Linked DNA regions of Homo sapiens: regions 1, 3, 4, 5 and 6 are each linked to region 2. Evidence: promoter capture Hi-C in 16 types of primary human blood cells and fetal thymus (Javierre and others, 2016). All regions are on one chromosome and are shown on one strand. The core of a region is centred on a gene start or on the middle of the fragment in contact, and the rest is flanking DNA. Distances in the headings are between cores, read along the strand shown. Region 1 overlaps SOD2 (superoxide dismutase 2). Region 2 holds the start of ZBTB2 (zinc finger and BTB domain containing 2). Region 3 holds the start of AGPAT4 (1-acylglycerol-3-phosphate O-acyltransferase 4). Region 4 holds the start of IGF2R (insulin like growth factor 2 receptor). Region 5 holds the start of ACAT2 (acetyl-CoA acetyltransferase 2). Region 6 holds the start of WTAP (WT1 associated protein).

Region 1 (4,702 bases), core at 1,751-4,250, 8.3 Mb before region 2:
CTGTGGAACAGTTCAGGATCTTTAGACTTGATACTTTTCTTGATTTCCCTTAGGGGTCAAAGTTCACAAGGAAAATAGCCCTTTAGTGGGAAACTGAAACAGGCTTGTTTTTATTTACTATTTACTCATATTTGTAATGCAATTAAAATATATGTTGTTAACTTTTTTTTTTTTTCTCAAGAGCTCGGTTGATAAAACCAGGGGTATGTGGACTTTTTGAGTCTGTGCCTTTTGGGGGTGTGTATGGGAATGTTATGTTTTAACGTTTTTTACAAAATAGTATTGTCTTTTTAATTTATTCGTTAGTGGTTTGCACAAGGAAGATAATCGATAGTCATGTTTTTTAGACTCTCTGTATTGCTTGGTAAGCTACGTAGTAAAAAATGTTTACTTTTCCTTAAATGTTTTGAATTTCGGGGTTATGAAATTTGTTGAGTAATTTTTAGACAGTCACATCTTGTTGACTGGAGGCATCTAGTGGAAAAATGCAGTATTTCAGCCTGATTGTGTTTGAAGTAAATGATTAAAAGAGGAGGAAGTTACCACATTCTGGAAGATTTACTTGAGACAGACGAACCTTGAATTACGGGAAAAGGCCCCGTGATTTAGGAAATAACAAATTTGGGAAACATGTAATGGGGAGAGACTGGGGAATACCCCAGTTGTGAAAGTACTTCCTGTAAGGCAACATCTGACACCAGGAACCTTTCTCTTCAGTATTTTAAAAACAACTTAATTTCAGTCCTTTACTTGTGGAATCAGAGCCTTACTTATGTAATACAACCCACTGGAAAAAAGCTTTTTATTGTATTGTACTATATTGTTTATAAGTGATTGAGTACCTGCAGAGCTTTCTTTTACTTAAACATATTTTAAAAATTATTAAAAAGATTTTCATGTTTGAAAACTTGGGGAAAAAAGATAAAACAATGTCATAATCTCATCACATTTAACTGACTAATATGAATATTTTTCAACAAAAAGCATTTGACTTTTATTATTATTTGAGGCAAAAACTAAACTGAAACCAAATAAAATGTTGAATTTCAGAAAAGTGTTCTTAAAAGCAGATATTAAGCCCTCAATTTTTATTAATTTTAAAATGAGTAAGCAAACTGTAAGATGTTAAGATTATTAAATTATCTCTCATTAAGCATGTATCTTTCCCATTTTAAAAATTCAGTTACTATTGATTTATTAAAAAACAATAGAAAAGTTACATCTATTTTTAGAGTGACTCTCAAGAAAATTTAATAAGGGAAACACAGATCTATAAAAAACTGTTTGTAAACCTAACAAAGGAAAAAAAAAGTTGGTGTCTTTAAAAAACCCTTTGAGATTAGCTGTGTATTCAGATATCAGTTGGTTCTCTCCTTTCTGAATCGCTAAACAACTGGAGCTTGTTTCAGAAAGCAGCATTGTCTACGTATGTTCCTTTTAAAAATTTTTTTTTTAATTCTGTCTAAAAAAAACAGACGGGGTCACACTATGTTGCCCAGGCTGCTCTTGAATTCCTGGGCTCCCCTATCCACGCACCTCGGCCTTCCAGAGTGCTGGGATTACAGGTGTGAGCCACCGTGCCTAGTCAGACATACTTTTTTTTTTTTTTTTTTTTTTGACGGAATCTCAGTCTGTCCCGCAGGTTGGAGTGCAGTGATGTGATCTCGGCTCACTACAACCTCCGTCTCCTGGGTTCAAGCAATTCTCCTGCCTCAGCCTCCTGAGTAGCTGGGATTACAGGCGTACGCCACCACGCCTGGCTACTTTTTGTGGGTTTTTTAGTAGAGACAGGGTTTTTCCATGTCGTCCAGGCTGGTCTGGAACTCCTGACCTCAAGTGATCCGCCCATCTCAGCCTCCCAAAGTGCTGGGATTACAGGCGTGAGCCACCTCACCTGGCCTTGTATGTATGTTTTTTTCTTTCTCTTTCTTTTTTTTTTTCTGTGACGGAGTATTGCCCTGTCGCCCAGGCTGGAGTGCAGTGGCGTGTTCTTGGTTCACTGCAACCTCTGCCTCCTGGGTTCAAGCCATTCTCCTGCCTCATGCTCCTGAGTAGCTGGGATTATAGGCACGCGCCACCATACCTGGCTAATTTCTGTATTTTTAGTGAAGACAGGGTTTCACCATGTTGGCCAGGCCGGTCTTGAAATCCTGACCTGAAGAGAGCTGCCCGCCTCGGCTTCCCAAAGTGCTGAGATTACAGGCGTGAGCCACCGCACCCGGCCCAGACATATGTTCTTAACGTACACTTTCAGAACAGCAGTTGAGAACTTTTTCCAAAATGTAAGCTCCTTGAGAGCAAAGCTCTCAGTGGGTCTCTGTGTCCTTTACTTTGCTTCTCTTGGTATCTTGTGGATAATATGCACAAAATATTTATTAAACAAGAGGATTTCCATTTTTTTCTAATATTAATAGTTCATTTAGTCTGTAGCTTCTTGAAGGCATAGAAAAGACTATTTTATTTTGCCTACTTATTTGGCAAGGTACCCATGCAGTATGCCAGGAGTTACAGGGCCTATTGAGAAGGAGTAAAGGGTCTGGGAGGGGTGGCAGGGAGTTGCTAATTCATGTATGGTGGCTAGAGAAGGCTTCACTGATGGGGTTGATGTTTCAGTGGAGACTTGAAGGAGGAACAGGAACGCAGCATGAGACTGTCTTGGGGAAGAGTGTTCAGCAGAGGCAGCAGTGCTCAGCTAGCCTTGAGGGGAACATCCAAGTTGGTCATGTGAGTGCAAAAAGGCCAGTGAGGCTGCAGCTGCGTGAGCACGTGCTCAATGACGGGGTCAAGTGCAGCGCCTCTTGGTAGTAAGAGTAGCTGAGTGTAAACACCTAGGGTTCGCTCCAGTGAGAAGGGGAGCCTTTGGAGGGGGCAAGGCCCACCCCCACCCCCCAAAACTGAGGGGATAGTGGCACCAGTGCAGTGAGAAATACTGGTCCTCTGTCCCAATGAGGTGGCAGTAGAGTTAGGGAGAAGGGATTAGGTTCTGCTTGTGTTTTATTTTTTTCTTTTATTTTTCTCTGTGTGCTTTTATATAGATTGGATGTATTTTAAAGGTAGAGCTGGCTTTGCTAATGGATATGCTGGTGGATTGGATGTGGGGTGAAGGGAGAGGAGTCAAAAATGACATCAGGTTCCCAAGGATGTCCTGAGGGACAGAGCTGGCATTTACTGAGACGTGGAGGACAATAGGAGGAGTAAGTTTGGGGTAGAACATCAGGAGTTCAATTTTGAGTATGTTGAGTTTCTTGTTAATGTGACTTGGAGATATTTCCCAATGAATCGTCGTCTGTCTTGAAAGTGAGAGTTGAAGGTTTTCTGTACAGTCTGTATGTTGAGCCATACATTTTAGCATTCTATTATTTTGATTGTCCTCTTTGGTGTTTCATTTCCTAAAATCTCTTCTATCTAAGAGATCCCTGAGCCTAGCAGCCAGGAGTGAATTTTCTAGCTTTTCCACCTCTGCTAGGTCCTTCATCAGTTGTTCAGCATGTCTGGGACAAATAATTTTGGGGCGGGGGGGTGCTGAATTTTAGGACAAACGGATGTTATAGATAAGCTGGTCCCATTATCTAATAGCTTACAAAGAAAAAAATATAATGTATACAGTGGTTGAAAAAGTAGGAGTTACAAAAAAATGTGTTTGCATTTTAACTTTTCAGGAGATGTTACAGCCCAGATAGCTCTTCAGCCTGCACTGAAGTTCAATGGTGGTGGTCATATCAATCATAGCATTTTCTGGACAAACCTCAGCCCTAACGGTGGTGGAGAACCCAAAGGTTGGTATATATTGGTGCACCCTTATCTACATTTTGTGCACAGTAGGAATCGATTGTTGATTTACTGAAGTTACCTTATACTTGTTTTTTGTTTTTTTTGTTGTTGTTTTTTTGAGACAAGAGTTTTGCTCTTGTTGCCCAGGCTGGAGTACAGTGGCGCAGTCTTGGCTCACTGCAACCTCCGCTTCCTGGGTTCAAGTGATTCTCCTGCCTCAGCCTCCCAAGTAGCTGGGATTACAGGCGCCCGCCACCACGCCTGGCTAATTTTTGCATTTTTAGTAGAGATGAGGTTTCATTCACCATGTTGGCCAGGCTGGTCTTGAACTCCTGACCTCATGATCTGCCCACCTTGGCCTCCCAAAGTGCTGGGATTACAGGCATGAGCCACCGTGCCTGGCCTAAGTTACCTTATTCTTACCAGAGGTATCATAGTGGCATATTTTTCATAACAACGAGTATGATAAAAGTTGTAACTTTCAAAAGGACACAAGTAGGAATGGAGAATGCTTTCATGGGGTTATGTCATAAGATTTTATGTTCACGCCAACATAGAATATCACATCAACTCCACCTTCTGGTTTCTGGATGGTACTTCATATTAGGGAAAGACTGAGAGACTTCATTTTATGAACTTTTTTTTTTTGAGACGGAGTCTTACAGTCGCCCAGGCTGGAGCGCAGTGGTGCAATGTCGGCTCATTGCAACCTCCGCCTTTCAGGTTCATGCAATTCTTGTGTCTCAGCCACCCAAGTAGCTGGGATTACAGGCATGTGGCATCACTCCCGGCTAATTTTTATATTTTTGGTAGAGACAGGGTTTCACCATGTTGGCGGGGCTGGTCTCGAACTCCTGGCCTCAAGTGATCCACCCACCTTGGCCTCCCAAAGTGCTGTGGTATGGATGTGAGCCACCGCGCCAGTCTAGAA
Region 2 (4,949 bases), core at 704-3,203:
CTTGATAGGCTTTCTTTAGGACTGATATTCAATTTCTGGGCTTACCCCTGGGTTTATTTCTACAAGCCTATATAGAGTGTAACGCTAGAAAATATTCAGTGATGTTAAAAATAAGCATAGTTACTTTGACTCAAGACCAATTACTCTACACACACAGGCAAATTTCTGCCCAATGGTCTCAAGTTTAGCATTAGTTTTGCCCACTTTTTCTTTTATTCTTAAGTCAGTTTCACTCTTCACATGAGCACTCCACCAACACCATAAGGTTGAAAATTTTCAGAATGGAATTCCAAAAGAATTAAGAACCTACAGATCTCTAATTACAATTCTCTACAAAACAATCAACATCATTTTAGTTCCCTAGTAAGATGAGACAGACCTCAATACTCAAGCCAATCCAAGGAACCAGGCACCAGTCTGAAGGCCAACTTTGATATTCCAGTGACAGCGGTGCAGTAGAATACTTAGATCAGGGTCAGAATTTGGTTTTGGAGGCAGACATTTACCCACTAAAGTCATTTATCTAGCTGATCAAAAAACAGGAAAGTTCAAAGCGAGTATACACTGAATCTATTATCCATTTGAGAGCCACTGAAGCTACACAGCTGCTTATTTTGTCTTCAAAGAAGGAATTAGTCATCAGTACCTGCAGGTATAACTGGATTTCTAAATCAAACTCAGATTTTTAGGAGGGACACTTCTATGTATTAAATTGTCTTAAGATGGTAAGCTTGCCTTAAATGATTTGTAAACTATGTGCCAGGCATTGTGCTAGTGGTCAGACTGTGTAAACCAAAATGGGTTAGACATCACAACCAAGTTAGCATGCCTTGAAACCAGAGTATCCTAGAAACTGCTGCCTCCACTTCCTTAGGAATAAAGCCATATCCTTTCTAAATCTCAAAAAATCCTAGATGTGTAAAGAAATCATTAAATTCTAGTCCTCAAAGGACTGTATTTCCCCAAAAAAGACACGGATTCTAGAAAAATGGCAACAACCAAAAAGTAAACTTTAAAATGTTAAAAATGACCATCAGGAAATTCTAACTTCCCTGCCATGTTTCCGTGTTTCAGGATCTCCCCGTTAAAAGATTTTCCACACCTCTAAATCTAACAGAATAGCCAACTCTGGAATCCATACCTCAAAGACCAAAACCTAACAGGAGAATAAACTGTTCTCTTAACAAACATGCGTTGCAGACTTTCATTTTTGGGGGGGCCAAAACTTCAAAAACGAAAATCGTTGCTGAAATAACCATGAAATTCAACCCTAACAGAAACATCTTACGCCGCTCAACTCATCTGCAAGGTAAAGGAAGCACCTCTGCCTCTGTGCACGCTACAGGAATCTGTACTTCAGCATGACTTTCAGTTACCATTGGTGACACAAAGATACTGCTGGTTTACAGTATCTCCCCGGTTCTAAAGGCCACTCCATTTCAAGTCTTAAAGATTAAAACAAACACGAAAAGTCAAGGGACAAGGGTAAAGGCCAAGAGATCTCAAGCAGAAGCCGGCAGAAGGATACGAGCAGTGGCTCTCCATCTCTACCCCGAGCATCTCAAGGACTTGTGCTACCTAAACACTTTATGTAAACAAGGGGCTTGTGACTCAGGCCTCCAGCCCCAATAGGTGGAGAGAAGTTTCCTCGCCTCGGCTGCACATGGTCTGCAGAAGTTTGGCTGGAGCAGAGCGCGGAGCCTGGGTGGGAGCGGCAGTGGAGTGCTGCAGGCGGCGGCGGCGGCGGCAGAGCAGCAGGAGGCGGAGGCGGGCGGGGGGAGGGGAGCGGCTGGGGGGGGGGCGGAGGGGGCTCTTGCCGCCACTGCTCTCTCGCCGCCTCTCCCCCCCGGCGGGAGCCGCTCGCAGCCTCTTTGCACTAGTCTCTCCGCTCTCTCGGTCATGTGACCTTAACGTAACCGGACAGGAAAAGCCCCGCCGCCGCCGCCGCCGCCGCGCCGGAGACACCGACCGCGGCGGCAGCAGCAGCAGCAGCAGCGAGAGGCAGAGGCGGCGGCGGCGGGGAGGACAGCACGGCCGAGGCTGCCCAGAGGCGCCTCCTCCACACCCCCCGCCGCAGCAGCACCGGCGACAGGTAAGCGCGCACCGCCTCCGCCTCCCGGGGCCGGTGCCCACGTGCCACCCCCAGCCCAGGGTCCGGGAAGGCGGTGGGGGGGCGGGGGCCACCGGAGCTCGCAAACGGTTCCGGCAGAGGCGGTGGCAACAAAGACGACGAATGACCCTCGTACCAGGGCTACGGGTGCAGGCAGGCGGAAGGCCCGGGCCACTCGGGGACCCGGTTCTGGGAAGCGAGGGCAGGGGCGCCTCGCGGGGGCGGCGGCGGCTGCGCCTGGCGCCGGGGCTCTGGCCGCTTGACAAAACCATCCCCCGGAGCCAGGCGGCGGCGAGTCGGCGGCGCCTCCATCCGGGGTTTTGTGGGAGGGGGAGGGGACGGAAGCCGAGAGGGCGGGCGGCGGATCGGAGGGAGGGTGGGAGGGAGGAAGGGGAGGGGGGCGATTCGCGTTCGGTTCCCCGTGGCCGGTCCCTCCCTTCCCGCCGCCACCGCGAAGTGCGCCCTGGGCGGCGGCGGCCGGTGAGCGTCCCGCGCTGGAGCCCTCAGAGGCGGGCCCGTCAGGTGCGTAATCCTTCCGACGCCTCGCCGCCGCCTCCTGCTGCTGCCGCCGCTGCTGCTTCGGCGGCAAGGCCGCGAGCTGCGGAAGTGGGTTTGGGGGAGGGGAGGGAGGAGGGAGGGGGAGGGGAGGGATCCGGTCCGACCGGAGCAGGCCCGGCCTCTCTGGCGCTTCTCCCAGCTGCAGCGGCTCCTACAGCTGCTGCCGCTACTGCTGCGGCTCCGCCTCCCGCTCGCGGGCGGGGGCGCGCACGCGCGCTTCCGGCCTCCTCGGGTCTCGCGCTGTCTCCGGCTCTCGCGCGCGCTCATCCCTCTCCCTCTCTCCCTGTCTGGGCCACCCCCGCCCCCGGCGCCGGGGCTGTTGCGCCGGCCGGGGCGTTGCGCACGGCGTAGGCGTCGGCATTGTGTTAAACTCCGCGGGACTTGGGGCGAGCGCGCGCGCGCACGCGGGACTGAGGGAAGCGGCGAGCGTGCAACGCGGCCGGAGTGCGTCGCCCCTCCCTCCCCCTCAGCCCCTCGGGGACGGGGACAGGGAGGGGGCGGGGCCGGCGAGACCGGAGGGGGCCAGAGGGCCCCGGCGCCGCGCCCCCGGCCCCGCCCCGGGGCGGGTGGGACGAGGTGGCTGTTGCGGCGCGCTCAGGCGGGCGGGGGACGCGTCGGCCTCTGTGGCGCCGCCCTTGTCGCCTGCTCGCTGAGGCTGCAGGCCGGGCCCCAGTCCCGGGTACGGAGCGTGTTGAGCCGGCGGCCTCCAGCTTCCGCCCGACGCGCCATCTGCGCCTGCGATACAGCCCGGTTTGGCCCCGAGCGCGCTGTGCTTTCGGCTGCTTAGCCTTGGGGCGTGGGACCCGCGCGGCCCTCACGCCCCAACCGGACTCCAAGGCGGGGAGGCTGCTTCCCGGGGCCGGCGTCGTTTTCTCGGTGTAGCGAAACCTCTAAACCCTTCTTGTTTAAACAAAGCCGCAAGAGAGAACTTTTTAGCCAGAAGCTGCAAAGGAAGCTGGGTTTTGCCGCTTTTAGCTGGTAGTAAAAGAGGCAATAAAGAAGCGAGGGTAGCAGAGCAGGCGAGTGCCTGGGCCGGGAGAAGCTGCAGCTACGCCTTTTACTGCAGGAACTTCCACCCGAATACGTGAACTCCTAATTATGCCTTGGGGATATAACCCGGCTCTCGCTCCCCGCCTCCCCCAGCTGCATTGTTCATTAGCTCTTTCATCATACAATGGGTCCACTGAGTTTGTGAGCCTTGATTCTATTCATTTTATCAGGGTATTGTTTTAGTAAAATAAAGCATAAAGAAGGTCAGAATTATCAGAACTCCAGGGGGTCTCTGGGTTTGCTTAAACGCGCTGCCCTGTCCTTGCTAATGTAAATCATCCATCTATGCCAACCCCGTTGGAGCACCAGGGCGAGTTGTACACACCACTAGCGTTTTAGTGTGGGAGTACCCTGAACGTTTAATAGAGAATTGGGACTGTGCCATTTTAATTCTCATTTGACTGATTTATCACAAACCAAAATTATAAATTGGTAAGGTAAATTCCACTGCATTTTGAATGATCTTGTTGTGTATCCAGGATGTTTTCAAACTGTTAAAAGGTCATTTTTTTCTTTTTTCTTTTTTCCTTTTAGTAAGAGGCAGGGATCTCGCTATGTTGCCCGAGACGGTCTTGAACTTCTGGGCTCAAGTGATCCTCCCGCCTTGGCCTCCCAAAGTGCTGGGATTACAGGGGTGAGCCACCGCTCCTGGACAAGAAGGCAGTTTTTAAAGGCATAGTAATTTACCACTAATAGGACATCCTTTTAAACTGGGCATTTCTCATTTAATAAACTTGTGGTTTGTTTGCTAGACAAAGAATTGTCCAGTTATTGAAGCCATCGTAAGTACAAGAAGTGATACGCCGGTGCCACTGATGGTCAACAGTGGAGGAGCAGTCTACACTACAGTGGAGTGTAGTCTACGCCCCTAAAACTTTGTCCTACAGTCCCAGTGCATACTTGCCAGTTTTAAAGCTTCTCTTCAAAGGGGATGTAAATACGTTGATGCTGAGCAATCTCTACCACTAGCAGCAGAGAATAAACGCTAATCATGTTTTAAGTTATAGAATAAAAGCTGCCACGGTGACACCTGCTTTTATATCTTAAACTTTAATATCAACTTTTCAGTAACCTCCAAAATCTGCACTTTTATAAGATAATATAAAATAATAGAAAAATGTGTTCATGGCCAGGGAAAGTGGCTCACGCCTATAATCCCAGCACTTTGGGAGGCCAAGGCTGGAGGATTGCTTGAAGCCAAGAGTTCAAAACCAACCTGGGTAACATAGAT
Region 3 (4,237 bases), core at 781-3,280, 9.9 Mb before region 2:
GTGGTGACTCCCTGCCTGTAATCACAGCACTTTGGGAGGTGGAGGTGGATCACCTGAGGTCAGGAGTTAGAGACCAGCCTGGGCAACATGGTGAAACTTCGTCTCAACCAAAAACACAAAAAATCAGCTGGGTGTGGTAGTGTATGTCTGTAATCCCAGCTATTTGGGAGGCTGCAGCACGAGAATTGCTTGAACACAGGAGGTGGAGGTTGCAGTGAGCTGAGATCGTATCATTGCACTCCAGCCTGGGCAACAGAGCAAGACTCTGTCTCAAAAAAAAAAGCATAGGATTTAATCCATGAATTTTGAATTTCTATGTTAAATTTTTAGAAATAGTAACTTTTTCTCCCATATTTCTCAGCTATATCTGAGATAACTGGGACTGAGCAACATTGTCTAGACAGGCAAAGTGTTAGCAATAATAAGTATAATAATAATTGTAATGTAATAATGGAATGAGGATGTTAAAGTACTGAGATCAGGATAAAAGTTACAATTGTCCAAATTTTAAATTTCCTATCATTTCCACTGAAATCACTGACTGTACTTATAACATTATCAGGAATTTATGCAATTTGTAGGTTTTGAAATAAATTACCATTCAGAATTCAACCGTGAAAAACAGTGTAACTCTACTTGAAAAACACTTTGAAAAACTCAAGTTTCCACCAAATCTAGAAGCACATGGGTCGTAAAACATAGTTCGAAAAGTTACGAGAGATGATGACTACAAGGAACTTTTTATAAAAATCTTTTATAAGCATTACTCTGTGGTCAAATTTATTTTCACATGGATATTAAAACAAGTTATTGCTACAAATGGGTTTCTGTTCTGATCCTTTTTTTGTTTGCCTCACATATCCTTTCTCTTCCACCACATTCTGCTTCACTCTCCCCGTCTCTCATCACAGACAAGAAAAATGCCACCTCCCATAGGACCCACTCCAAACCCTGTTTCCTGAATGATCAATGCCTTCCCCCATCGCAATCAAAAAAGCACTTTCTATTCTGTCTTCATGACACACTGGTTTTGACACTTGCATAGCTGTTAGTAATTCTGCAATGTGCTTGGGCTATTTGTGAGCACATGTATTTTTCCTTTATAGATTATAAACATCTAAAGAACAAGGTTAACCCAGGAGTCAAGTAAATAGTTAAATATTATTTTGACAATGGCTGTAATAGTGGACATTTGAAAGGAATACACCTCAGTATTTTGAAATTGAAATAATTTTCTAGATCCTGGCATTTCTGGACTTTCAACAGCCCACCCTTTTTAAAAATTGTGAAGACACTTTTACTATAAAGGTCTGCCCAGACCCTCTCTGATACACCTGTGTAAATGCCACGTGCATGTGAGCATGCGACAGTACGTGTGTGCACGCCTGTGCAGTGGTAATCAACCATGGTGCTAAGGTTTGAAAACAGAAAATACATCAATCGACCTCCAAGCTTCTTTCATCCCACTTCATAACATCTCAATCTCTTGAGTGCTGAGGCTTATTTTGTTTAAGATGATTTGGACTCTTCTGAGTGCAACGCAATCTCCTTCCAGCACAGCGGACCGAGGAGAGGTGAGGGGAGAGTTTTGAGGGTGGGCATATTGATCCTACGCTTGCTGAATTAAAAATGAGCCAACTGAGGACAATTTCCAGGTTGCAACACAGACGGAGCCGGAGTCTGGGTTGAGGTTAGAGGAGCCGTTAGGGCGCAGGGATGCAACAGGATTTGGGAGAAAGGGGAGAGAAAGCAAGGCCACTTCCAGGGGGCTTTCATTTTTTTTTTATCCTGGCAGCTTCCCGAGCCAGATTTCAAAAGCGATTTCAAACGTGAAGCCAACTGAAGCACTGCCTTACACTAATTGGAAGGGGAAGGGAGTGACTCATATTACACCAGCTCGCTCTTCCCTCTCGGCAACTGCTAACTTGTAGCTTTAAAAGGAAGTGACATGGGTGGGGAGAGACGTCAGCTGAGGACCACTTTTTTTTTTTTTTTCTTCCTGAAGGGTCCACCCCATGGGTGGAGTCTCGCTTTTTCTTTCCAGTGTTGGCTGACTTACAGCTCTTATAAACTAGTGGCAATTTCTGAACCCAGCCGGCTCCATCTCAGCTTCTGGTTTCTAAGTCCATGTGCCAAAGGCTGCCAGGAAGGAGGTATGTGGTCCTGGTGCCGTTCGCAGGCACCTTCCCCGCTGGGTGTGGCTGATGTTTGCATTCCTCTTCCCAGCATATTTTTCTCTCCTGGGCTGGATTTCCTTAGGACCTCTGGAAGGGGTAGGCTCCGGGGGCGGGGGGGGAGTGCAAGGCGGGCGGGGGAAAGGTGCAGGGGGCGCCTGGAGGGAGGCGAAGAGAGGCTCTGCTGGTACAAAAGGACCCTCGCTTTGTGCTGGGCCGGGTGAGCGTCCCTTTCTGGGCTGTGATTTCAAGCTGCTGTTCCTGGCTTCATTTACCCACCCACCCAGCCCCCTCCCGGGGCTAAAGCATTTTCTCTGCTATAGACGAAGCTGGGCGGGGGGTGGTGGTGGGGGGAATGTTCCTATTACATATTGCTCTCTTTTGTGTCATGCAACATGTTCTTCCGTCGCTGACGTTTCTATGGCAACCACAAAAATACTACACAATATGCAGCCCCGATATACATTGATTTATTTGTATTTTGTGTCTAGTTTGCAGCTTTCTGCTCTGCTTCTTGCTTTGGTTTGCTAAAATCCAGCATGGCTTGTGGCTACCCCTCCTCACTTTCATTTTGGTTTTTCCCTATCACAGGAGGGGTGGGGGAGGGGAGTTGTCAAGGAAACAGGCATTGGTAATTACCTCTCTATTTACCTAATTTTCGGCCTATGAATTTCTCCATATCGAGGAATTAAAAAAAGAATGCTTTGATGTTTATGTAAGTCTTCAGTGTCTGGTCTTTTTTTAGAAAACCTAAACACTTCTTAAGATAAGATATTGATCCTGTGGTCAAGCTAAGGGGGAATTAATTCCTTACAGGAGGTGAGATCATTGAAATAAAGTTTTAGAGAGCATTGGAGAATTCGCACTGATAAATGTGATATTGCCTGCCCAGGTTTGCCTAAAAGCTTAAATATTTAAAAGATGGGTCTTTGCTCTCATCTGCACTTATTTAGCTCCAAATCTTAAGTTCAACAAGTATGAGTAACAAATTAACTGCCGGGCAGGATTCTCCGTTTTTCGTTTTCGTGCATTGTTCTTAGATGGATTAGCCACGCTATTCACTCTCTTCAAGGTGAGGGTTGCTAGACTTTTTCAAAACTGTGGAAGGATTAACTCATCTGTGATTAGTCAACGACTCTCAGTTGGAAAAAAAGTATCTTGAGAGAAGGGAGAATGTGTGTGTTTGTGTGTGTGTGTGTGTGTGTGTGTGTTTAGGGAAATGGGAGGCGGGCAGGGAGAACAGGGCACATCTTGAGTTCTACGTTAAAAGGATTCCATCTTCTGAATATTCTCTATGGGGAGAAAAACTGTTATTCAGAAAAAATATGAAATGAGAAAATTATTATCTACTTAGTAATAAGCAAAGTTAATTATAATTAGAATCAAATAACACATCTCTTAGAAAGACATAGCCTCTTAACAGGTACCGGCTAAACTGATGCTTTTATTCAGTACGTCTAAGGAAGCGTTTGATAAGGGATACCATTCTTCTGATGGGCATCCCAAATAATTAGCTTTTATAAAATAGATAAGTAGTAATCCCATTCATGACTCTTAAAATTATCTATAATTTAAGATAAACATGTGTGAAGGTCACTTAGCCCTCATACCTTCCGGCTGCTAAAGCCAAAATCATTACTTATAAACCTTGAGCAACCCTGCCATGTGGAAGCAGGAAGAATGGGTGGTTTCAGTGAGGTTCTGTTTGCTGTGATCCTTATCTAAATATGCTATCATCTATGTCTTATCAAATCTGCTATAAATCCAGAGGTCCTAAGTAATTCAGGTAGAAAAGTTACCTGAAAATGGGGCAAAATAGCATGGCACAAAACAAACCAGAGCCACATGGAGTTAAAGACGAGAACTATTTAAAGGGCATAACACACAGAAAAGTATTACTAAAAAGAATATGACACTCATTTTGAAAAGCACATGTTAGTACACAGAGAAACGGTTGGATTGTGAGCATCTGATGTTTGCAAAGAATTCTGAAAAGCAGCCAGGCTGAAATTACTGTTTTTCCTGTCTGAAAATGGTCCTCAAGGGCAGATTTGCCACATGAC
Region 4 (4,458 bases), core at 1,430-3,929, 8.6 Mb before region 2:
TGGAAGGACTGCCTGAGCCCAGGAGTTCACGACTGTAGTGAGCTATGACTGCACCACTGCACTTCTGCCTGGGCAACGCGGTGAGACCCTGCCTCAAAAAATTATAAAACAGGAACAGACAGGAAGTTCACTTGGCACATGTTGGGTTTAAAGTAGAGATTGCAAGTGGTTCTGGAGAAGTCTGCATGTGCAACTACAGGGAAGTAACAGGGAAAGAGGTGGGTGAAAATCCGTCTCTGAAATGATTGGCAGATTTGTCATCCTAAGAAAATCTGGCAGAAAAATTAAACACAACTTTTAAGATATTCTAAGACTACAAAGGGCAGATCTTATTATATTCACAATGCATATCAACCTCAGAAACCTCTTCAGCATTTGCTAAGTATGCCCACGTGTGACAGTGGCCAGAAAAACGTAAAGATACAAAGGCCATTCCTACTAGACCAAGAGGCCGTGTTCCACCTGGAGATGAAGTTCGTGAACACAGGTTCAAGACACTGCCATGACTAACCTAATGCAAAAGTAAGGGTCCCATCAATCAGCCAAAGTATCAGTCTGCCCTTGAAGCCACCTTAATCTTAACTGTGAAGAAAACAAACTTCAATTTGTTAACAAGACCAAGACTTCAACCACACTAGGCCAGCTGGGTTAATTTCTTATTGTATTTATTTATTTATTTTTGAGACAGGGCCTTGCTCTGTCGCCCAGACTAGAGTGCAACTCGACTCGATCACAACTCACTGCAACCTCGACCTGCGGGGCTAACGTTATCCTACCACCTCAGCCTCCCTTAACTGGGAGGACAGGAGTGTGCCACCGCGCCCGGCTCTAATTTTCATATTTTTTGTAGAGACGGGGTTTCGCCATGTTGCTGAAGCTGGCCTCCAACTCCTGGACTCAAGTGACCCGCCCACCTCGGCCTTCCAAAGTGCTGGATTCCGGGCATGAGCCACCGCGCCCAGGCGAGTTAATTTCTTATTTTTGGTCACAGAAGCCATTATTCCAAAATGCCTTCCTCTAAATGTTGTTCTCAGCCTGACCTCGTTTAAGCTGCCACCATTTCTCTGTATCATACTAGTTACTGGAGTAACTATGTATCTTAGGGTAGCTAACTGGTCTTTAAACTAGTGTCACAAACTCTCCCTCCATCCACCCTTCCCCTTCCAAAAAAGGGAGCATAAAAAATATGGGCCTTTCCAAAGAGTTTCTATCGTGAGATCAGCCTCACCCTCCTTAGACTAATTTCTGCATGTTCTGAACACAGGGGTGCTAATAAAACTATCTCTGATGCATGGGAAAAATAAGAACCCCCCCCATAAACCCTACCACAAACTCCAAGTTCAGCCCAAAGTAGGCTCAACTTTGTTTCACTCTGAAAAGTAACTTGTAAAAGTAACTTGTAAAAGTAACAGTAACAGGGAGAAACTGTTGTCTGTTCAAAACTTTTCATCCTGCTTCCTTTTTACCAAAGTTTAAAAAAATAAACAAAAGCTGAATTTTCCATCATCCTAAACAGTCCAGAAAAGGATGGTCAGAAAATTCCTGAAATTCGAAGTTCCCCAGGCCCTGGACTGCTAGCAGTTGCGCGAGGTGAACAGCCCTCGATGGGACTGATGGGTTATACAATCATGGTTCCCAGAGCAAGATCCACTAGAATAATCCGCCCCGGAGACAATGACATCATGTGAGCAACCAGGCAGGAAGTTGGGCTCAGAGAAGTGAAGGGTCAAGTCTTGAAAGCTCACACTGGACGACACCCCCTGCCCCCAATCTAAAGAAGACAAAAGTCACCGCCTGCTAAAAATATATATATATATATATTCTTTAAAGAGAAAATGAGCCCACGGGGGGAAATCAATCAGCAAATGAAACCACAAACACTCAACTCCAGGACCATTCCTGCGGGCTCCAACGCCCCGGTGAGCCTCTCCACACCGAGGGGCCTCACCGGTGCCCCGCTGGCGAAACTCTGATGCAAACGCGCAGCGGGAACAAAGCAAACTGGAGTTCCTGCCTCCAACTTTCCCGGACGCCCGGCCGCGCGAGGGCAGGCGCCGACCCCAAGGGCCGGGGCGACCGCTCCGCACAAAGCCACCCCCGACTCAGCGACAGCCACAAGTGGCCGGACGCGGGGCTCCAGGACCGCCACGACCGCGTGTGCCCCCGCGCCCCCCGCCTGCGCACGGGACCCGGCGGGACTCGCGGACACCACGCAGGCAACTTTCCCTCGGGAACGGGGCGGACCCCGGCGCGGAACGGAGGCGACTTGGAGACCCCAGGAGCTCCTCGAGCGCTCCCCGCCCCCCACGCCGGCCGCTCACCCCGGGCACCGCGAGCGGAGCCTGCGTCCGGGCGGGCCACCCACCTGCACAGCTCGGGGAACGGGGCGGCCTGGGCCTGCGTGGACCCCGGGGCAGCGACGAGCAGCAGCAGCTGCAGCAGGAGCAGAGAGCGCTGCGGGCGGCGGGCGGGCGCGGGCCCCAGGTGGGGGCTCCGGCCGGCGGCGGCCCCCATCGCGCCGGGCCCGGACTGCGCGGCGGGCGCGAGGCTAACGGCGCGCGACTGCTGGGGGCCGCGCCCGGGACGGGGTCGCGCCGCCAGGGCAAAGGCGGAGGTGGAGACGGAGCGGGAGCCCGAGGTGAGCGCGGCTCGACTGGGCTCGGCGACAGCGACAGCGGCAGCGGCGGCCCCGGAACCGCGTCACGTGACAGCCGCCCGGCACCGCCCCCCCACCCCCGCCCCCCGCTCACGTGACTCCCTTGTTCAGGTGACCCCCGCCCGCCCCGGCTCCTCCCAGGCCCGGGTCACGTGAGCGCAGCGCGCGGGACAGGAAGCGGCGCGGGCGGGGCGCAGGCTCCAGGTGCCTCCCGGGGCCTGAGCCTCTCGGCGGGCTGGGCGCGGCGGGGGTGCCTAGCCGGGCCTCAGTTTCCCCTCCCACCGCGCCCTGCTGGATCGTGGCGGGTGCTTCCCAGGTTAGAGCAACTGTTCCCAACCTCGATCGACCAGTAGGGGAAAATAGGGAACTTGGATCAAAGTGCCAGGGAGGTAAATGCCTTCGCACAGCCTAGTGGCAGCGGATCCGTGGGGGGTGGGAACACACTTTAACTGCCCGTGGAGTCAAATCATGGGGGTTTACAACCTTGGCCCGTCAGAGCCTCTCAGACCTTCTGTGGGAATGTTATTTCCCAAGCGTGGGCTTCCTACAGCAAGGAAGGCAGCACAAATCCAGCAAGGTGAAAGAGTGGACAAAAGTGTCGCTGTCAAGCAAGTGCCACTCAACAAAGCTTTATTAATTCACTACGTGGATGGCCATGAGCTAGCCACAATGAAAGTAGAACGATGAATCTAAAAGTCTTGAACTAAAAAAATTCACTTTCTTTTAGAGTAAATATACAAAATAATCATGACTGAAAATAGTAATCATCATCATCATAAAAGCTCATCTTTTTTAGTGCTTATTCCATACCAGACACTGCTAAGCATGTAAGCATGAATCTTTAAAAACCTATGAGATGGGAACCTACTTATAGATGAGGAATTGAGGCACAAGGATACTCAGTGACTTACTCAAAGACACTCTGGGATGTGGCAAAGCTGGAATTCAAACACATATAAATAATCATGACCCAATAATAGCTAACATTTCTTGAGCAAGTAATTATGTACGAAGTACTGAAGTGTTCGGACACTGTGATTTAGCTCATTTAATCCTAACAGTCCTGTAAGAGGGGGTGCCTTTATTGCATCCGTTTTGCAGATAAGGAAAGTGAGGAATGGAGAAATTAAATAACTAGTTAGTCTTGCAGCTAGTAAGTGAAAAAGCCCGGGTTTGAGCCCAAGCCAGTCACAGGCCTGTGACATAACCACCGTGCTATTAATATATTGCCCAAGAAAAGAAAGTGTTGTAGTGGGTCAAAGGGAGAGCTCAGGTGTAAACTGTGGACGTCGAAAAAGGGTTTGTGGTGACCGGGCGCGGTGGCTCGCGACTGTAAACCCAGCACTTTGGGAGGCCAAGGCGGGCGGATCACAAGGTCAGGAGATCGAGACCATCCTGGCTAACACAGTGAAATCCCATCTCTACTAAAAATACAAAAAATTAACCGGGCGTGGTGGCACACGCCTGTAGTCCCAGCTACTCGGGAGGCTGAGGCAGGAGAATCGCTTGAACCCAGGAGGCAGAGGTTGCAGTGAGCAGAGATCGTGCCACTGCACTCCAGCCTGGGAAACAGAGCGAGATTCCATCTCAAAAAAAAAAAAAAAGAAAAAGGGTTTGTGTTTTGCAACTCCAGTGTTATAATGGATACAGGCAAAGACCATCAGTAAATACTAAAACCATCTGGTGAAAAATTATTGTGAAGCGGAATATTCTCTTTGTCTCAAAGTATCACCTTCAAAGTATACTTCCTTAAAAAACACAAAATACCTCTTCACAATGGAAAGATCTGGTAGAACCACCTT
Region 5 (4,721 bases), core at 292-2,791, 8.4 Mb before region 2:
TTCATTCACAAAAAGCATATTAATGAAGCTAAGTCTTTTTGTTTGTTTAGAGAAGGGGTCTCACTCTGTCACCCATGACGGAGTGCAGTGACACAATCACTGCAGTCTCAAACTCCTGGGCTCAAGTGATCCTCCCACCTCAGCCTCTCCAGTAGCTGGGAGGCACAGGCCATCATACCTGGCTATTTTATTTTTTGTAGAGACGGGGTCTTGCTTTGTTGCCCAGGCTAGTCTCAAACTTCTGGACTCAAGTGATCCTTCCTCCTCCGCCTCCCAAAGTGCTGGGATTACAGGCGGGAGCCACCCTGCCTGGCCAAGAAGCTGAGTCTCAAGCTGGATAGAAGCTACTGACAGGGCTGGAAGAAGGGGGCCAACAGGAGGAATCATAACAGAGGGAACTCTGAGCAAAAGCAAGGAGGCAAGAACTTGAGTGAGTGAGAGAGTGTGTGAGTGTGTGAGAGTGTGTGTGTGTGTGTGTGTTTATGGGCTGTTTCTAATAAGCCTGACTTCTCCTGGAATCACTGAGACTTACCTGCTGCCAAGACATGTCCAAAGATGACCTCAGACACATCTTCCGGAGCCACAGTGGCCCTCTTCAAGACTTCTTTGATGACAGTGGAGCCCAGGTCCTGGACAGGAACAGCAGCTAAGGCACCATTGAAGGAACCTACAATAGAAAGGCGGAGAGCGTGGACATCACAAGCCTGCGGGTAATACGGGAACCACCTACGAGCAGGGGAGCCTCATGACCCTGTTTGGCAAGGCCACGCGAGGAGGCAGTGCCCTCTCCTCCCACACGTTCCTACACCTGCTGGTCTGAGCAAAGGTCAAGGTGGGTGCCACAACTCGCAGCAGCCGAGGGCTGGACAGGCGACCTCCAGAACGGCCTAGGGACGCCGCTGTAGCCCTTCTATTTCCCCAAATCCGAAGGACTGGATGCGACCCCATGCTTCCCAAACAAAAGGAACCGGCGGGTCAAGGGCGTTGAAAACCATGCGGCACGAAGGAGACGAAGTCACGACTTCTAGCCATTGTGTGACAGCCCGACCCCAGCCCAAAGCCGGGCTCAGACCACCTAGCAGTTCCGCCCCTGCCGCAGGCATTACCGATGGCGCCTCCCGGAGCCGGCCAATCAGGGGCCCCGGAGGAGAACACCTCCCTACGCCAACCAATGGGAGAGGCAGGCCACGCGATGGCTCTACCCCGGGAGCCAATCCAAGCACGAGGGACGGAGTGCGCACATCGGGAGAGGAGAGGGTGGGGCTGTAGCACCAGGTCAGGGAACGCGGGAGCCGCAGGGTTCCAGGGATCCCGCGGCTCCTCGCGGCTTGGCCTGACCGGCTTCCTCCACATACGCCCCTCTCCTACACAAGTCCGGCCCTCGGCGCTCCTGCCGAAGCAGCAGGCGCCTCGGACTCTGCGCGGCTCCCGCCGGCCACTCACCTATGATGGTCCGCGCCGCCGAGACGATGACCACAGGATCTGAGCCTGCATTCATCTTGCTTCTCCTGCCGCCGTCTGCCCTGCGCTGCCTGCAAGCTAGGCAAAGCTCCTCCTCGCAGCCCACAGGCCTGCCGCGGGCGGGACCTGAGGTAGCCCCGCCCCTCGCCCTCCACCTCCCCGCGCACCACCTCCCCGCGCATCCCACTGTGCGCAGGCGCAAGGCCGGAGCAGGGGCGGGCGGAGGCGCGCGGGGCGCGGGGCGCGGGGCGCGGGGCGGAAGTGAGGCCGGGGCGCGGGGCGCGGGGCGGAAGTGAGGCCGGGGTCTGGGCTTGCGGGCAGAACCGCGGACCTCGGACGCATTTACAGAGCGCCTGAAACCCCAGTGTTTCTGGACACCCCAATGTTGGAGTTCCCCGACTTGACGTCTTGGGCTTTTTTTTAAAAAATCTTAGGGTTTCTCGAAACAGTAAAGACTGGGGGGTGACAAAGACTTATCTCTCGTTCAGCTCAGGACTGGAATCCCACGGGCGAGAATCTCGAGTGCGAGCCCGGCCCGCGGCGGGTCTCAGCACAGCTCTGATGGGTCCTTTTGCTCTCGGCGGCTTCGGGAGGTCCTATGCGTTTCTCCTGGCGCCAGTCATTCGCTCGCGTGAGGGGCTTGCTAGGAGCGTCTCGGTGCGAGCCCCCTGCCTTCTAAGATCAACTCTGGCTGTGAACGGGTGAGGACGCCGGGAGCGTCTTAGCGTCACAAAAGTTCCTTTGGTTGACGTTTGGACAGTGAAAGGAGCATGTAACAAGTGGGGTCAGTTTTGTTTAAAACCCTTTCTGACTTCCCAGCCTCTTACTGGGCAAAGTTCATAATTTTTCTGAGCTTTCTAGGGTTTCCAGGCAAGCTTATGAGGGGCCACCGTTACAGCAACTTGTTGGGAACACCTGGATAGTGGAACAAGAAAGCTTTGTCACAAAGTCATGAAGGGGAAAACTGTTGACGGACCTGGAGAATCTTCCTGAAGAACTTTAAAGTTGATTGAAAGAATCATTAAATCCTGGAAACCTACATTAAGACTTTGCAGAGATATGCGGATGGGTCAGATAAATCAGAGAAGGTAAAGAGTGTAGGCCCCAGAGGTGGGGCAATAGAGAAGGAAAAAAATTGCATAACAGTGCAATTTCAGGAGAAATCTTTAGGGTCTGGAATAGTGGTGAAATCAGCTGTCTACTCTGCTAAGAACTCAGCAGCACACTGAAGTCTCTTCAGTTGTCTTCAATGTGTTTCCTGTCCCCTAACATATCTGAGTCCAAGGAATTCAAGGAATGCCTCCCGTGGCTTTTGCTCTATTCTATCCCATTTTCCCCTTACTCCCTGGCCACTTCTGAGTCTTTGTGGGCTTACTCTCACATCCCCTTAACATGTTCCCCAAGGCTCCTACTTTGCACCAGCTCCCTGGGTAATACCAGTCATTCCTACGGCATCAATCACCACCTGTATACTGACAAGTCTGAAATCCTTACATCTAACCTCGTCTCCTAAGCTGACTGACCCTCTTCATTTAAATTCTTACAAGCACATCAGGTCGGGCACCTTGGCTCACACCTGTAATCCCAGCACTTTGGGAGGCCGAGGAGGGCGGATCATTTGAGGTCAGCAGTTTGACACCAGCCTGGCCAACATGGTGATATCCCGTTTCTACCATAAAATAGAAAAATTAGCCGGGCGTGGTGCCGTGCGCCTGTAATCCCAGCTACTGGGGAGGCTGACATGGGAAAATCGCTTGAACCTAGGAGGCAGAGGTTTCAGTGAGCCGAGATCACACCACTGCACTCCAGCCTGAGCGACAGAGAGAAACTGTCTCAAATAAATAAAATTTCCTATAAGCACATCAAATTTGACATATTGAAACCAAACTCTTCCAGCCTGTTTCTTCTGTAATCTCAGTGAGCAGTGAAACTATCTTCTGTTAACCAAACCAGAAATTTACCTCTGAAACTCCCCCTAAACATCACTTCTTCCAGAAAAACCTTCCAATCTCCTGCATTTGGTGCAGCATCTTACCCCTAACTTCCTCTTTCAACTTACCATGTAATTCCTAGTTTATCTGTCTCCTCTACTGACTACATAAGCTTTCCAAGATGATCCTGTTACACTGCTTTATGCACAGCTCCTAGCACATTATAGGCAGTTATGAATGAACACCAATATTCTTTATGGCCAGTGCCTAGCACATTTGAATGAGTATGAATATATTCTTCTGGAGCCAAGGGATATAGAGTTTCCTGCCTGAAGGCTCTATCTAGAGTAAGTTTAGGAGCCAATCTTGAGAAGGTAATTGCATGCTTCTGCTGAGTGGCCAAACAGAATCTGTCCCCTGAGGAGTCCTCATTATAGCTACTCATATGATTATCTACTCATATGAGACAGACAGAGACTAAGAATAATGAATGAAGGAAAGAAGAGGAATTTTTTTTTTTTTTTTGAGACGGAGCTCGCTCTGTCACCCAGGCTGGAGTGCAGTGGCGCTATCTCGGCTCACCACAACCTCCACCTCCCGGGTTCAAGCGATTCTTCTGCCTCAGAGTCCTGAGTAGCTGGGATTACAGGCCCGTGCCATCATGCCCAGCTAATTTTTATATTTTTAGTAAAGACGGGGTTTCACCATGTTAGTCAGGCTGATCTCGAACTCCTGACCTTGTGATCCGCCCACCTCGGCCTCCCAAAGTGCTGGGATTACAGGCGTGAGCCACCGCGCCCGGCCAGCTGGAAGATAATTTTTAAAATTATGTCTTGGCCGGCCGCGGTGGCTCATGCCTGTAATCCCAGCACTTTGGGAGGCCGAGGCGGGCAGATCACCTGAGGTCGGGAGTTCAAGACCTGCCTGACCAACATGCAGAAACTCTGTCTCTACTAAAATACAAAATTAGCTGGGCGTGGTGCCACATGCCTGTAAATCCCAGCTACTAGGGAGGCTGAGGCAGGAGAATTGCTTGAACCTGGGAGGCGGAGGTTGTGGTGGGCCGAGATTGCACCATTGTACTCCAGCCTGGGCAACAAGAGCGAAACTCCATCTCAAAAAAAAAAAAAGAAATAAAATAAAATTACATCTAGATCTCAAATCATAAACTACCTGGACTGGTGAGCAGGGTGAGTGGGCAGGAAGCCACAAAAATCTCCAAGTGCTTACTCATGAGGAGCCATCATTACAGCAGTGCTATGGAGCCAGTTTATCCTGAAGGGGCCTTCTCAGCATCTTCCCCCGCTGGAAGATGCAATCATTCTTGGT
Region 6 (4,731 bases), core at 1,818-4,317, 8.3 Mb before region 2:
GTTCAAAATTTACAACTGTCTACAACATTCAACTATTTGGTCAAAATAGAACCTAATTGGCAATTTTGACTTTCACACCACACGAATGTACCGAGAAGTTTGGTATTCCCCAGGGCAATTTTTTTTTTAGCGCAAATGACAAACACAATAACCTAAATTTAAAGTCAATTCTAGATTCATAAAGGCAATGAATATTCTAGGTTCTCAGAACAATCTATTCTCGTATCAGAAAAACAGAATGACCATAACATCATTTGGAGTCAATTAAAGTTGAATCCTGAAGGAAAATAATAAAGAAAATATGTTCAGTTCTTATGAATCACACATTTAATAACAGCACTTTTCAAAGTCAAAGTTAGTTCCCATTTTCCAGGATGAAAATGACTGTTAGTCATTAGGTGATCAGCTATTAGGTGATTAAAACAGCTATTAATTAATAAATTGGGGGTAAGGGTCTCAAATTTGGTGCCCCTCAAAAGGGTGGTAACATGATTGACTAGTTTTAAAATTACATAAAAGTTTCAGTTATTTATGTAGATAATTCAGAGATAATATATCTCAGAAAATCAGGACCACCATCTACTCTTGATGCCTTAACACAGAAAAACAGCTTAGTATGGAGTTCAGTCTAGACTGGTTAGGTGCCTAGCATCCCAGATCCCAGTACCTTCCTGGCTCTTAGCATCATAAAGTTAGGTAACTCAGTTCCCTCTGAACGGAGGCAAGCGCCAGCCAAAACAACTTCAGTAAGAAGACACGGTACCTTGGCGAACAAATCATAGCTGAATGTAAGACACCAATCTGCAGACACTGTAGTAGCAAGGTACTGATGAGGAACTGAAAGGCCATCTTTTCCTTATCCTCTATCTGCCATGTGTGATTCCAAGCAAGTCTTTTAACTCTTGCAGTTTCCAAGTCAGCAAAAAGATAATTTTGCCTGTCTCACAAAGTGCTGCAAATATTAATGCTTTCAGCACAATAAAAATGCTATAGATTTTTCAAATAAAATATGAACATAATATGAACATAAAAGGCAACTTCAATGTGCACTTAGAAAAGATTAAATTCTATTAACTACATCTTCAAAGGCAGAAAATATTTACAGCAATATATTTTAGTCAGATGGAACATCTTGTTATACACAATACACAATGAAGTTTACTATTGTGGAGATACTGAAAAGTTTTTCTGTGTTAAGCTTAGTAACTACAAGAAGCAAAATATTTAGAGGCAGAAAAGTTGGAGACAACTAAAAAAATTAAAAACAAGAATAAAACCAAAATACTATCTTCAGTCTTCTTTTGCTGAAGGACCTACTAACTAACGTACAATTTTGAGGAGCAAGAAGCAAATACATAATGATCAAAACTGCTAAACAATATATTCAAGGGGATTCAATACTACATACAAGACCATAAGAGACCTTGAACGCTTTAATGTACTGTACAAATTGTGACAATGCTCATCTCCACATCACAGGGCTTTTTACACATTGTGTTTCATCTCTACCAGCTTATTTCTGACAAACAATACACAAAAATATTTTCAGCAAACATGACTCAACGTTGAATTGGAAAAGCTAGACATAAAAGAGCCATGTAAAAATAAGCAGTGCCTGGGACACACTATTATTATTACTTTTATCCTTTAGGAGTTAGCAATTCTGGTAGCTTGTCCAAATTCTGCCAATGAAAAAGTACTAAAAATACTGAACTTTTAAACCATGTGTCTGCTTAAGATACCTTAACATATAAAAGCACTGTAAGAAACACACCTACCCAAACCCTTAAAATGTAACCTCAACCTTATCACAAGCCAGCTTTGCGGACTGCAATCTTTCCCCGACTTGGCTAATCAGATGCTACTTGAATGAATTAAAATGTATCCATCTTGAAAAGATTTTTCGCTCATAGTTTTAAATTACGGTTTTAAATGTCCACAACATGTTTATCTATCGTAGAAAACTTAATGGTCAAAATTTTAAAATCCAAAAAACGAGAACTTGCGATGGATCTATGACGTCCACTTATCTTCCGAAGCAATGGAATTAACTAAAACTAGATAAAATAGGCACAAATACAACTTCCAATTGTAACATACTCATAGAAGTATTTCCCTACCAGACTAAATAATAGTTTTTTTGTTTTGTTTTGTTTTTTTTACATAATCACAGTTATGCTAGTCCTTGATAATGTTAAGCTAATCCTTTGGGATCAAACAACCAAGTGACTTTCTTATCAAAACAAGAACTCGGGCTTTTCCATTACGTGTACACAGACTTATGAAAAACGGTGAAAAAAAAATCTAGTAACTGTCTCACAGGGATCCAAGGTAAGACTTGGATTTCACAAAAATCTGCAATAATTCAGTTTCTTTCCTCAGAATGCTTATACTCATTTAAAAATGGAAGTCTACAAGAGAACGTAGTAACATCCTACTGCGTGACATGAAATGTAGGGAACGAATGTTTCTTTTTTTCCTTGCTGAACTCGTTAGTGCCGCCAGGTCCTCAGGAGAGGCCCAAGGGAGGTGAAGGGGGCGACCCCGAGGCGAGGAAAAAACGAGCGCCGCCGCTCAGCCCGGGGAGGGCATCCTCCGGCCTCCGTGAGTGGCCGGTCTCTCCGGCCGCCAGAGCACCCCTCTCAACCCGGGCCTTGGGGACGGAGGACAGAGATAAAATGGCCTCGAAGCGGCGGAAGTGTTCCCCGCAGGCGGGAAGGTAGAGCGGCTCACGAGAGACCGGTGCCGCACCAGGCCCGTGTGGCCTTTCGGGCCCTGCCCGCCCCTTACCCGCCGGGGGCGGCTGCGCATCAGCCCTCAGGCCCCGGAGGTCCCCCGCGTCCGCTCCCGCCAGCCGGCCCGCGCCTACCTCTCCAGGCAGAAGCCGCGCCGGCGCCACCGGTCGCATAGGCCGAGGCCGCGCTGCTTGCCCTGCCGCCCGGGCCCCCCGGGCCACCGCGCAGCCGGACAGCTCTGCCGCCGGCCCCGCCGCGCTCCTAGTCCCGCCGCAACCCCTGCGCTCCCCTTTATTTGTGGGTCTCGCTGCCACAAAATGGCGCTGAGGGAGGAAACCAGGCCCCGCCGCCCGGCCCCGCCCCGCCGCACGGCTCCGCTCCGCCCTGCCCCGCCCCACAGCCGGTCCGAACGCGCCGCAGGCCAGCGCCACTGCCTCCCGCCTCCCGCCTCCCGCCTCCCGCCAGCCTCCCCGCTCCGCCATGTTCGCCTTCTGGCCCACTCACAGGAGAGTCGCCTTTCAGGCGTGGCCGCAGTCACTCGCCCGCCGCCGAACCCCGCCAGGAGAGGAAAGGTGAAGGGAGGGAGGCCGTCGGCCTAGCCCGATCGGGGCCTCGAGGCACAATGGAGCAGCTGCTCCCCGGTAACACTCCCCGTCCTTTCCCAGGAGCCTGGCGCGAGCTCCGCGGGCCCCGGAGCTCAGCAAGCTCAGTAAGGGAAGCGGCCGAGGGGAGGGGCGGGCCAGCGAGGTCGGAGGTCAGCCCCAGGGCATCACGGGAAGGGAAGGTGGAAGTACTCGCCGGGGCCACCTGCGGCTGCGGGGCTGCCTCGTGCGGAGGGATCTGGGCGAAGGCGGCGCGTGATTGGCCGCTCTGTGTTCGTGACGCTCATCCGTGATGCTTCCGCGTGTCGGAGGACCAGGTGCCACCTCAAGAGAGAGGCCGTGGGCGGCGAGCCGCGGGCGTTTACTCTTAGCAGAAGCTCACCTGTAAGTTTTGAGAACTTAGAAACCGATGCCTTCCCTCTCATCAGTCGTGAGGCGCAGTCTCCTGGCCGCTGGGTTCGTTCCTCCTTGACATCTCTGGAGACGCATCGAGGAGCTATTGTTCTCTGGCGTCGGAGGTTGCGCTGTGTCCGCGGCGTTGAGGGCCCCTTGCTAACTGGAACACGGGGAAGGCGGCCCTGTGAGGTTTAGTGAACTCAATCAAAGAGGTCCTGCAAGTGGAGTAGACTCCCTGAAGTAAGACTGCCATCTGGACCGCCGAGTAATGGCGGTGTTACCTGGAGAACGTGAAACAGTCTCTAAACACTTACTAGAAGAGCACGTAATTCTTTTGATTGGTCTGTCCTTAGCCGGCTTTATCAAACCTGTTCATCCCCAAAGGAGTGTCTTGTAGTAAGGTGATTTATTAGGATAAGATTAAAGTACATTCCAGATGGTCGTAGTATATTTCCAGTGAATCAGATCGGTCTGGAGAAAATCTTTGCAACTCGTATCACAAGAGCTCTCAAAAATTGAAAACAAAAAGTGCAAAAGCCAAAGGAGAAAATGGGGAAGGACATGAACAGATGATTCTCAGAAAAAATACCGTAATGGTCTTTAAACATAGAAAGTCGCTCCACCTCACTTACAATGGAAATACACGTTGAAATTACCTTTCCTGGTGGGAGTGGAAAAATGGTTCAAGTTCCACGGAGTACAAAATTACTTGTGTTTATTCTTATACCTTGCAGTTATACTTCTAACCCTAACCTTATTCTGAAGGTGCAGCTCCACACATGGAAACAATAGGTATACAAGGTTATTGCAGTGCTATTTGTCATAGCAAAAGTTAGGGATAACCCAAATATCCGTTAATAGGGAACTGATTGGGAATGGTGCATCCATACAGTAGAACACAATGCAACCATTAAAAAGATTCAGGAAATAATCGTGTGTTGCTTTGGAATGAGTCTCAGGTTGTATTAAGTATTCACTTAAATATTTAAGTGTAGTAA

Evidence for each region. The method cuts DNA at HindIII sites, captures the fragments that hold promoters and counts their contacts. A CHiCAGO score of 5 or more calls a contact.
Region 1: a contact is called between a fragment that was not itself captured here and the fragment with the promoter of ZBTB2 in region 2, in 1 of 17 cell types (activated CD4 T cells). The highest score is 5.3, in activated CD4 T cells.
Region 3: the fragment with the promoter of AGPAT4 here is called in contact with the fragment with the promoter of ZBTB2 in region 2 in 1 of 17 cell types (total CD4 T cells); the score reaches 6.2 in total CD4 T cells.
Region 4: the fragment with the promoter of IGF2R here is called in contact with the fragment with the promoter of ZBTB2 in region 2 in 2 of 17 cell types (fetal thymus and naive CD4 T cells); the score reaches 6.0 in fetal thymus.
Region 5: a contact is called between the fragment with the promoter of ACAT2 here and the fragment with the promoter of ZBTB2 in region 2, in 3 of 17 cell types (naive CD8 T cells, non-activated CD4 T cells and fetal thymus). The highest score is 9.9, in naive CD8 T cells.
Region 6: the fragment with the promoter of WTAP here is called in contact with the fragment with the promoter of ZBTB2 in region 2 in 2 of 17 cell types (fetal thymus and total B cells); the score reaches 7.7 in fetal thymus.

What each region holds. Positions count from the first base shown.
Region 1 is chr6:159,687,200-159,691,901 of GRCh38, reverse strand. It overlaps SOD2 (superoxide dismutase 2), which reads left to right. Exons shown (of 5, transcript NM_000636.4): 3 at 3,660-3,776. Among named protein-coding and RNA genes, the nearest start is that of SOD2, 3.7 kb to the left of the region's middle. RefSeq lists a silencer at 4,335-4,585. The HindIII fragment of the contact is 4,400 bases long and covers 801-4,702 here.
Region 2 is chr6:151,388,563-151,393,511 of GRCh38, reverse strand. ZBTB2 (zinc finger and BTB domain containing 2) reads left to right here and starts at 1,953. Exons shown (of 3, transcript NM_020861.3): 1 at 1,953-2,092. It overlaps LOC124901232 (translation initiation factor IF-2-like), which reads right to left. Exons shown (of 3, transcript XM_047419613.1): 2 at 3,040-3,558; 3 at 1-2,807. The coding sequence ends at 1,908. RefSeq lists an enhancer at 1,068-1,940 and silencers at 1,922-1,981, 1,992-2,381, 2,462-3,391. The HindIII fragment of the contact is 3,903 bases long and covers 733-4,635 here.
Region 3 is chr6:161,271,854-161,276,090 of GRCh38, reverse strand. It overlaps AGPAT4 (1-acylglycerol-3-phosphate O-acyltransferase 4), which reads left to right and starts at 2,030. Exons shown (of 9, transcript NM_020133.3): 1 at 2,030-2,153. The HindIII fragment of the contact is 1,627 bases long and covers 1,455-3,081 here.
Region 4 is chr6:159,967,303-159,971,760 of GRCh38, reverse strand. It overlaps IGF2R (insulin like growth factor 2 receptor), which reads right to left and starts at 2,679. Exons shown (of 48, transcript NM_000876.4): 1 at 2,366-2,679. The coding sequence starts at 2,514. RefSeq lists silencers at 2,059-2,188, 2,209-2,488, 2,499-3,118. The HindIII fragment of the contact is 4,184 bases long and covers 1-3,286 here.
Region 5 is chr6:159,758,865-159,763,585 of GRCh38, reverse strand. It overlaps ACAT2 (acetyl-CoA acetyltransferase 2), which reads right to left and starts at 1,541. Exons shown (of 9, transcript NM_005891.3): 1 at 1,444-1,541; 2 at 533-667. The coding sequence starts at 1,498. It overlaps SOD2-OT1 (SOD2 overlapping transcript 1), which reads left to right and starts at 1,254. Exons shown (of 2, transcript NR_037166.1): 1 at 1,254-1,592; 2 at 1,950-3,328. It also overlaps a transcript of SOD2 not described here. RefSeq lists enhancers at 1-160, 2,229-2,288 and silencers at 1,569-1,718, 1,739-1,798. The HindIII fragment of the contact is 5,525 bases long and covers 1-2,338 here.
Region 6 is chr6:159,725,842-159,730,572 of GRCh38, reverse strand. WTAP (WT1 associated protein) reads right to left here and starts at 3,067. Exons shown (of 8, transcript NM_001270531.2): 1 at 2,870-3,067. It also overlaps a transcript of SOD2 not described here. RefSeq lists a silencer at 2,649-3,198 and enhancers at 2,661-3,258, 3,209-3,338, 3,689-3,778, 3,259-3,856. The HindIII fragment of the contact is 6,285 bases long and covers 1,201-4,731 here.